Regions from separate parts of the Homo sapiens genome. Here region 2 is linked to region 1. Evidence: promoter capture Hi-C in 16 types of primary human blood cells and fetal thymus (Javierre and others, 2016). All regions are on one chromosome and are shown on one strand. Each heading gives the region's core, a stretch centred on a gene start or on the middle of the fragment in contact. The rest is flanking DNA. Distances are from core to core; before and after follow the strand shown.

Evidence for each region. The method cuts DNA at HindIII sites, captures the fragments that hold promoters and counts their contacts. A CHiCAGO score of 5 or more calls a contact.
Region 2: a contact is called between a fragment that was not itself captured here and the fragment with the promoter of POU4F1 in region 1, in 1 of 17 cell types (total B cells). The highest score is 5.8, in total B cells.

Annotation. Positions count from the first base shown.
Region 1 is chr13:78,602,176-78,606,500 of GRCh38, reverse strand. It overlaps POU4F1 (POU class 4 homeobox 1), which reads left to right and starts at 2,949. Exons shown (of 2, transcript NM_006237.4): 1 at 2,949-3,297; 2 at 3,950-4,325. The coding sequence starts at 3,175. It overlaps OBI1-AS1 (OBI1 antisense RNA 1), which reads right to left. Exons shown (of 6, transcript NR_047001.1): 4 at 1,057-1,200. RefSeq lists a silencer at 2,999-3,158. The HindIII fragment of the contact is 4,390 bases long and covers 1,750-4,325 here.
Region 2 is chr13:79,193,924-79,198,248 of GRCh38, reverse strand. No RefSeq gene overlaps it. Among named protein-coding and RNA genes, the nearest start is that of RBM26, 210 kb to the left of the region's middle. RefSeq lists enhancers at 1-338, 3,212-3,331, 3,592-3,811, 3,922-4,011. The HindIII fragment of the contact is 7,662 bases long and covers 1-4,325 here.

The DNA.
Region 1 (4,325 bases), core at 1,700-4,199:
CTGTCCAAGCATCACCCGCTCCATATTTCTATACACATCCCTCTCATCACACCTGTTATACCTGTGTCATAGATGCCTTTTATCCGTGGCTTCCCCACGCACATACACTGTCACCTCCTGCAGGGCAGGTACTCATATTGTATACCTCATTTTATCTCCAGTGTCTTGTACTGGGCCAGACTACCGCTCAGCAAGAATTTGAGGAAGGAAGATAAGGTAGCAAGTTAATGAGGGCGGAGTGAAATAATTGGCTCCTGAAAAAGAACAGGCTGGAATAAAAATTTACAGCTCTGCCTGGGGAAAACACACCCCTCCTTTTTAAGGAGAATGTAGACCCCCCCATCCCCCCACCCAGGGATCTTCCTGCAATCTCCAACCAGCCCTGGATTGTTGAACAGCCCCTAGGCCACCACCCCTCCCCCAGGCTACCCGAAACTGGCCTCTCTTCCTTCCTACACACGTGTTTTTTGGTGGGGTACTTTTCCTGTGACAAACTCTGCACTAAGTGCTATAGTGAAGATGGATGTATCCTAGATGGGCTTCCTATCCATGGTGGGAGGGGGAGGGAGGATTGTACCCATAGCCCTCATGTTTCTGGTCCCATCAAAACACCCAATACCCCAAGCAAAGATCTGGCCTCACCCCAAGGTGGGGTATTCCTGTTGTCGAAAGAGAGGTGAACAGGGAAGGAAATCTTGGTGGGACTAACTCCTAACTTCAGGCTAAGGTGGCATCTCTCCGCTGGGTTTAATGGAAGCCTCCCAGGGTTGGAGGGTGAACCGAGGTGCCTTTTGGGTACTCAGGAGCTCACCTGGCTCTCAGAGGCCCCACCCGGCCGCAAACCTGTACTGTTTACCTTTCTGTTGCTCCTGTACCCTTCAGGGTCCCTAAAGACCAGCGCTTCCTTGAGAGGGGAGGGGCAGGTTCCAGGCCCTCACCCTCTGTGGGGGCCTTTTCTTTCCCGTCAAGAGAGAGCGCAGGGAACGGCCACCAGGGGTGTCAGGAAGGACTAGGTTAAGCCCGGACTCCCGGTGTGATGACTACCGTAGGACTCACTCTTTCCCTCTAGCGACGTCCTGCTCATCGTCCACTCCCCGTTGAGATAAAGTTGCATTTAGCGCTCCCAGGGGACTGCGTAATGGATGGAACCAGCTCCTTCTCTCACCAGCAAGTGAACATCCTTCTCACTTCCCTCTGGAGCTAGAAGGAAGGGAGGGGGTGGGGGGGAACATGAAAAGAAAGAAAGAAAAAGCCATGGTGACGCCTGTGGGCTCTTCTTGGAATCTGAGTAGGTGAGTGGGTATGCTAAACACACATGCATTTGTGCAGAGGAAAGATAAAATCCACGGGAACGCAAATTTAGGTTTATAGAAATGAGATCTGCTCTTTGGTGGAAATACAGACTTCCTTGGTGTGGGAGAGAACAGAAAGATTATCTGATTTCTGCTTTCCATAAGCAGCCCCTTGCTGCTCTCCAGCTCTCTTACCGCAGATGTGATAACATCTGGGCTGTTAGGTTATTATCACCGCGAGCAAGTGCTCCTTCCCTGGGGACTTTGGCACCTGAACTGTGGCTCCCCTGGGAGGCTCTTGATCTGCTACCACATAAGGGCCATATAACAGGTTGGCTAATTGATTTATTCTTTTTAGGTCTTAATTTCACAATAATTTTTTAAAAATTTAAAAACTGGACCAGAGCTTGTCCCCGTTCTTTCAAATTGGCTTGATTTAATATTTTTGAATCAAGCTTTCCTGTAAGTTAGTTTGATCTGTCTCCTATTGAAAAAAATATATATAAGCAGGCAGAGATATGAGGCAAAAAGCCAAAAAGATGGAAGGGAAAAGAAAGTTCTCTTTTCAACATCTTATTCCCTTTTCTCTGAAGCAGTTTTCCTGGAGTTCCCAGCATAAAGTGTGTGTGTGTGTGTGTGTGTGTGTGTGTGTGTGTGTACGCTGAGGGGAGGAAGGATCCCAACTACACCCTGTTAACTGTTTTTTCCTTTTGATTACTAGAAGCCTTAGATCACCCGGAGCTCGTTTGAAACGTGGGTTTGTACACGGTTGAAGGAGACAAACAATAAGAGAAATGCACAATTTCATTTCAACAGCTTTTCCCGAGTAGAAAGCACACGCTCCTTGTGGCTCCTAAGTGGCTGTCACTGGCGGTGCCTGACACAGTTATATTCACAACAACAACAAAAAAGTATGCGGAGGAAATTAAATTATATGGAAATCAATAGCGTCTGACTGCTTCAAACAAATGTCTGTCACCGCGATTATTCTCCAGGAACCTATTTATAAACCTTTAAAGAAACAGGTTCTTGCAGCAAAAGACAGCACCTTCTGCATTTCTGTGTTGTTATTTATACTGTATACAGAGGAATGCGCGGGCATAATTTAACGTAGAAATGTCCAGCTGTATACATTATACAACAGCTTGTTAGGCATCCCGAAGAGGAGGAATGCCTAAGTAATGCTCATATATTCAAGGCTTGCTATCAGGGAGAAGAAACATACACACATACACACACACGCACGCACACACACACACACACACACACATAGAGGGGCGTGCGCGCATCTCGTCTTTTTTATTCTAAAAGGTGCCCACCCTTAGACAATAGCTGGACCTTCTGATCTTTCCAGACCACGGTGGGAAAGGTGAGGCGGGCAGTGCGCATGCCCGGGTAGCTACAGGTGCATCACCTGCGCTGTCCTTGCTGGTGGTCACTATAAGAGCGGCTCCCACGCGCTGGTCGCGGCCGGACGAGCGCGCGCGCGCGCAGACGCACGGGGCCGCCGAGAAGGAGAGCGCGCGTCAGACAGACGGAGACAGCTGATGCCTGTCAGCGCGGTGGGGCCGCGAGCTCTCGCGAGAGCTCCCCGGGACGGCCGCGAGAAGTGGGGCTCAGGTGTTAGAGGAGTGCATCCCGTCGGCGCGCGGGGCTAGAGCTGTCGGAGAAGCGGGACCGCGAGGCCGGCGCGCGGCGCTCTGCGCGGTCAGAGGGAGCGCCTGGCAGCAGCAGGAGCAGCAGCAGCAGCCCGCGGCGGGGCCGCCGCCAGCCGCCGCGACCGCCGCGGCTGCAGCCTCCGAAGGGAGGCCGGGTGAGCCGGCGTACGCACTTTCCCGCGGACTTTCGGAGTGTTTGTGGATATACATGCCAAGCCGCCACGATGATGTCCATGAACAGCAAGCAGCCTCACTTTGCCATGCATCCCACCCTCCCTGAGCACAAGTACCCGTCGCTGCACTCCAGCTCCGAGGCCATCCGGCGGGCCTGCCTGCCCACGCCGCCGGTAAGCGCCCCACGCCCGCGGCCCCGGCCCGCGCGCCCGCCCCTCCCCGTCTCCGAAACGCTGCATGTCGGGGGCTGGTGTGTGCAGGTCCCGGTGCGGGGAACTGCGGGCAGGGGGTGTAGAGCAGTCCCGCAGCGAGGCACGTTTTGTCCGGCGGCCCTTAATGTCGTGTTCCTGTCTGCCTCTGCCTCCGCGTCAGGCGCCTGCGATCGGAGTAGGGAGCGCTGGGGCCAGGACTCTCGACTTCCCTCTACTTTCTCTGTTAATTTCACGCCTCAGAAAGGCAGTCTCTGTGCGTGCTCGGGTGTGTGACACGGGTCCCCAGCTGCGAGTTACATTTCCATTTCTTCTTTTCCCTCTTTTTCGTCTCCCACGCCCGTTTCCGGAATGTGTTCTTGTGTCCCCCTTTCTCCCTACTTCTGTCCCCCTCTCCACGCTCCCATCCCTTCTCGTCTGCCCCCTCCCTGGTCGTCAATGTGCCCCCTCTCCGTCTTTCCCGCTCTCCACTGCCCCCAAACCCGTTGTTATTTTGGTTGCTTTGTGTTTGCCCTTCGCATGCTGTGCTTTCCGGCCTGTGTGTGTGTTTCTTCTGTTGTTTTGTTTTGCTCTTTTGGTTTTGTGGTTTTTTTGGTTTGGTTTGTGTCGCCTGCAGCTGCAGAGCAACCTCTTCGCCAGCCTGGACGAGACGCTGCTGGCGCGGGCCGAGGCGCTGGCGGCCGTGGACATCGCCGTGTCCCAGGGCAAGAGCCATCCTTTCAAGCCGGACGCCACGTACCACACGATGAACAGCGTGCCGTGCACGTCCACTTCCACGGTGCCTCTGGCGCACCACCACCACCACCACCACCACCACCAGGCGCTCGAACCCGGCGATCTGCTGGACCACATCTCCTCGCCGTCGCTCGCGCTCATGGCCGGCGCGGGCGGCGCGGGCGCGGCGGCCGGCGGCGGCGGCGCCCACGACGGCCCGGGGGGCGGTGGCGGCCCGGGCGGCGGCGGCGGCCCGGGCGGCGGCCCCGGGGGAGGCG
Region 2 (4,325 bases), core at 999-3,498, 590 kb before region 1:
TGTATACCAAACTGTACCCTGTCATGAAGGCTTCACAAAGCAGAGAAAGGAGACAATGGATCCTGTTTTGTTTCTCATTTGGCCCTTGCTGGGTTTACTTTCATCCTGCTGATCCTGTAGGCAGCTGTGGGAGAGAGAAGGGCTTAGGACCTGGAGGAGGATACCTGGGTTTGAGCCCAGCTCTGAAATTCGTTATTCACGTGACCTTGGGAATATCACTCAAACTTTCTGAGTCTCAGTTTCTTGACCTGTAACCTGGAGACTCAATCATTTTCACCATTGGAAGGCTGGGAAGATTAGATATGTACAAGTTTTCATAAACTAAAATGTGTACTAGCCATATAAGGAATTTTAATACTTATTACATAATGACATTAATTTATATCTTATAAGATATTCTGATAAAATTTGGGAGAGCAACCCACCAGATTTATTTCTTTCAAAGGTGTCCTGGATGCCTATGGTGGTAAATAAGTAATGATGATAATAAATAAATCCAGGAATTAAGTATTTATGTATAATACTTTACAACTTCATTTGGTGAAGCATTTTTCATGCCAACTGTATCCCCAAACAGATTACATTCAATGAAGACTTACAGTGATAAGCAATAAATACTAGCAGTGAGAGACAGACATTGAGATAAACAGGCAGCAAAAAGTGCTTTTCAGCTAAATTCTGAAAAGAAATGAAGAATTTAGGGTTGCAGAGACCCAGGAGAGATGTCACAACAGGCAGACACTTTTGGAGATAAAGTTCTCACACTCAATTTTCTTAGTGAAAGGCCTGAGGCACGAAGTACCAAAGTGTTGAACTTCTGCCTGGGTCATCTCACAGGCGGCGGGTCTTTACTGTGGGAAGAAAGAAACAATATTAAGTCTGAGAGAGGTGAATTTCAACTTCATGGGGATTATGAAGCAGGAAAATCTTTTGTAAATGGCTTTGCTTTGATCTATATGGACCAGAAGAGAACTACGTATTGGTATTTTATTGTCCATAAGCTACCCAAAAAGTGTACCTGCAGTGTTCATCACTAAAAATCAGCTGGAAATTTGATTTGCAGTCTAGAGTAAGGATTTTCAAGTTAGTTCAGGATACACTGATTTCTGATTCTTCCATGGGTTTGCCTTTGGCTCAGTCAGTTTTGACGCAATAGATGGGAGTGATTTCCTTAAATGTTAATTTGACTTTTTAGTAGCCATGTGCATAACAGAAGCACTCTGAGTAACACTATGTGTTGTGTGTGTGTTTGTATTAGTCAGTTCTCATGCTGCTAATAGAGACATATCCGAGACTAGGCAATTTATAAAGGAAAGAGGTTTAATTGACTCACAGTTCCACATGGCTGGGGAGGCCTCACAATCATGACAGAAGGCAAATGAGGAGCAATGCCACGTCTTACATGGTGGCAAGCAATAGAGCTTGTGCAGGGAATTTTCCTTTATAAAGCCATCAGATCTTGTGAGACTTATTCACTGTCATGAAAGCAGCATGAGGGTAACCACCCCCATGATTCAATTACCTCCCACAAGGTCCCTCCCATGGCACAAGGGGATTATGGGAACTACAATTCAAGATGAGATTTGCGTGGGGACACAGCCAATCCATATCAGTGTTTGAAAGACAAAGTGGTGGCATACACAGCAGCCTCTCGAGGAGGGTACTAAAATGAGTTTCTATTTCTATATCACACTGACTGAGATTGGGGAAGATAAGAGTAGGGTAAGGTGAGCAAGCTCAAAGACTGAGGAAATGTTGCTTGGTATGAGAAATTTTACTCAGATAACCTCAGGAGTGTATAAAGAAGAGTTATTGTATTCTACTCACAAAGTGTTTTTGTTGATGATGGCCTGATTGGAAGATGAATTACCACCCGCCAATGAAAGGCAACCTTACAAAACCATTTGAAACCCAACTATCTCATGTTATATTGGGTTGTGGATAGTACAGTTCAACTCCAACAGGATACCTTTGGCTATGTGGGTGCATGTTGACAGCTTTAAGGAGGGCCACTAAAGTGTCTTTCATAGTGCTAAAAGCACCTCAAAATGAGTAATTTATTTTGGAAAAGCATATTAGGAGAGAAAAAATGTTTCATCTAGAAGCACTGATATGAGGAAGAGACTAAATAAATGAATGAAGAAGTTAGTGCAGAGTAGAGACAAGCATGAATTGGTTTCACAGCTGCTTCTGATATGGCCAATAAAAAAGATAAAGAAGAAAAAGAATCAAGCAGCCAGGGAAAGGTCAGCTCCTTAAGGGCAGGCCTCCTGCCTAGCAGTACACAGTTATCCCCAGTGCCTAGAATATGGTAGGCACATGGTAATCTCACATTTTGCAGTAAAAATAAATACATATGTACAGGAGCTAAAAGTATATATTAAGAAGGAAGTTGCTTGACATTAGATAGAGTCTTGATTATTTTAGCTCCATGATAGGGGTTGTCTTTGACAAAATTTCCTCTTTTTTACAGTTGTCATCTAGGTAGCTATCTCTATTGGTGGTGTTCTTTAATAGGTGTGGGAGAGAAGCCTCAAGGGACAGAGTGATCTGAAGTTGTTACATTAAATAGGTTTCCCAGGCAAAGCAAGAAATGGCCTGGAGTCTGCTCCTGGTTACAACTTTAATCATTACATACAAGCTGGCTGTGAAAATCCATCTGAATGATGAACAAAATACTTTAATCTGGACTTCATCATGTTACTTTTGCTACTTTGGAGTTCTGAATTCATCATAAGAATGTGAAAGATTTACCTGCAATGGCAGTTCCCTCGAATTCCAGTAAATCCATGAAAGAATGTGTTGCTTCATGGAATGGATGAGAGAGGGAAAACATTCTCTCAGGGAATCAGAAATAGGAGAGATTTGGGTGGCTGGGGGTGGAAGGGCAGTTCAGGTTCCAGAAAACAGAGCTATTGGAATTTGGATGAGGGTTTTAAAACATGATAAGGCCTATCAGGAGTCATAGGTTGATAGCAATCAATGAGTAAAATGACTCCTTGTGTTTGGAAAAGAAAATCAAGCAGACTTGTGGAAGTCTGTGGTCTTGGATGCAAAAGGAAGCTAAAGCTACAATAGTCATTAAGTCAATGGAAGTGAGAAGGAACTTTTAGAAAATTTGATTAAGACAGATAAGGGACTGGATTCCAGGAATTAGGTTAAGAGAATGACAGTACCCCTCAGAATATAAGGTTTGTCTAATTATTCTGATATAAGGATTATTAGTTATAAAGACTATTCTCATCATGTAGGTGGAGGACCTGGTGCCCCAATACTACAGGCACAACAGCGTGGAGATGGTTCCTCTCTGCAGAGCCCTGCATTCAGCCGCATGCCTAGGACAGTGGAAAGTGCAGGGATGTTCTTTTGCCTGTTTACCTGTGACAAGATCATCAAGTTTCTCAGCTCAGAGGGGACACTTAGAGTGGGGGAATGGGTAAGACTTTTCTGCTATAAGTGAGGAAAAGGAAGAAATGAGGAAAATGACAGAACAATCTATTCCAGGGTCAACTCTAGTATATATTATAGGAGAATTGTATTTCTTGCAAATAAAAGCAGAGACCTTCTGATGTTTGTCTTTTACTTTAAGATAAGAGAAACTCAATTGACTCTTCCTACTCTAGATCTTAAATACACACAAGGAAGGTGTCCTGAGCGAGGCACTCATGAGAAGTTAGCTAAAGTCATTTTCAGATTTAATGATTGCAGGTGTCATAATGAGTGTGACATCTCTCTAGTTCTTTAAATAGCACTGCGGATGTTCTGTGGTTAGACTGGCTGCCCCAAATTACCCAGAAGTGAAACTGCTTTTTTGGTGATGCCTATGTCTGATCCATAACCTCCATCTTTTCTGTATCTTTTTTTTTCTCTTAAGATAACACAGCACATTTGAGGATGCTTAAAGTATTTGAGTGGTGCTACTGGCTATAATTAAGTTCTTTCAGCCTTTCCATTACAAATTCTTCTTTCCGAGGTTTAATATCTCAGAGACTTCTAATCCCACTGGGCCAAACTTAGTATAGAAGCTGTCAGCAGAAATGCAAATTTTTTTGCCCACCCCTAAATATTTCTAATCAAACAATTTTTTTCCCCTCATTACAGCAAAGGTATAAGGAAATAGGTTTCAGGCACTTTTGAAAAGCAAGAAAAAAAGTAATCTAAGCACAAAATCTGAGAAAAATGCATAAGAATGCAAAACCTGTCTAGTTTCGGGGTAGGTGGGCAAATATTGAAGACATACAGCATCAGAGAATTTTTGCCTTGTGTTTTTTAGCTAAATTCAAGATGTAACCATGAAATAAACTGACAGCATATTGTTTGTTGGT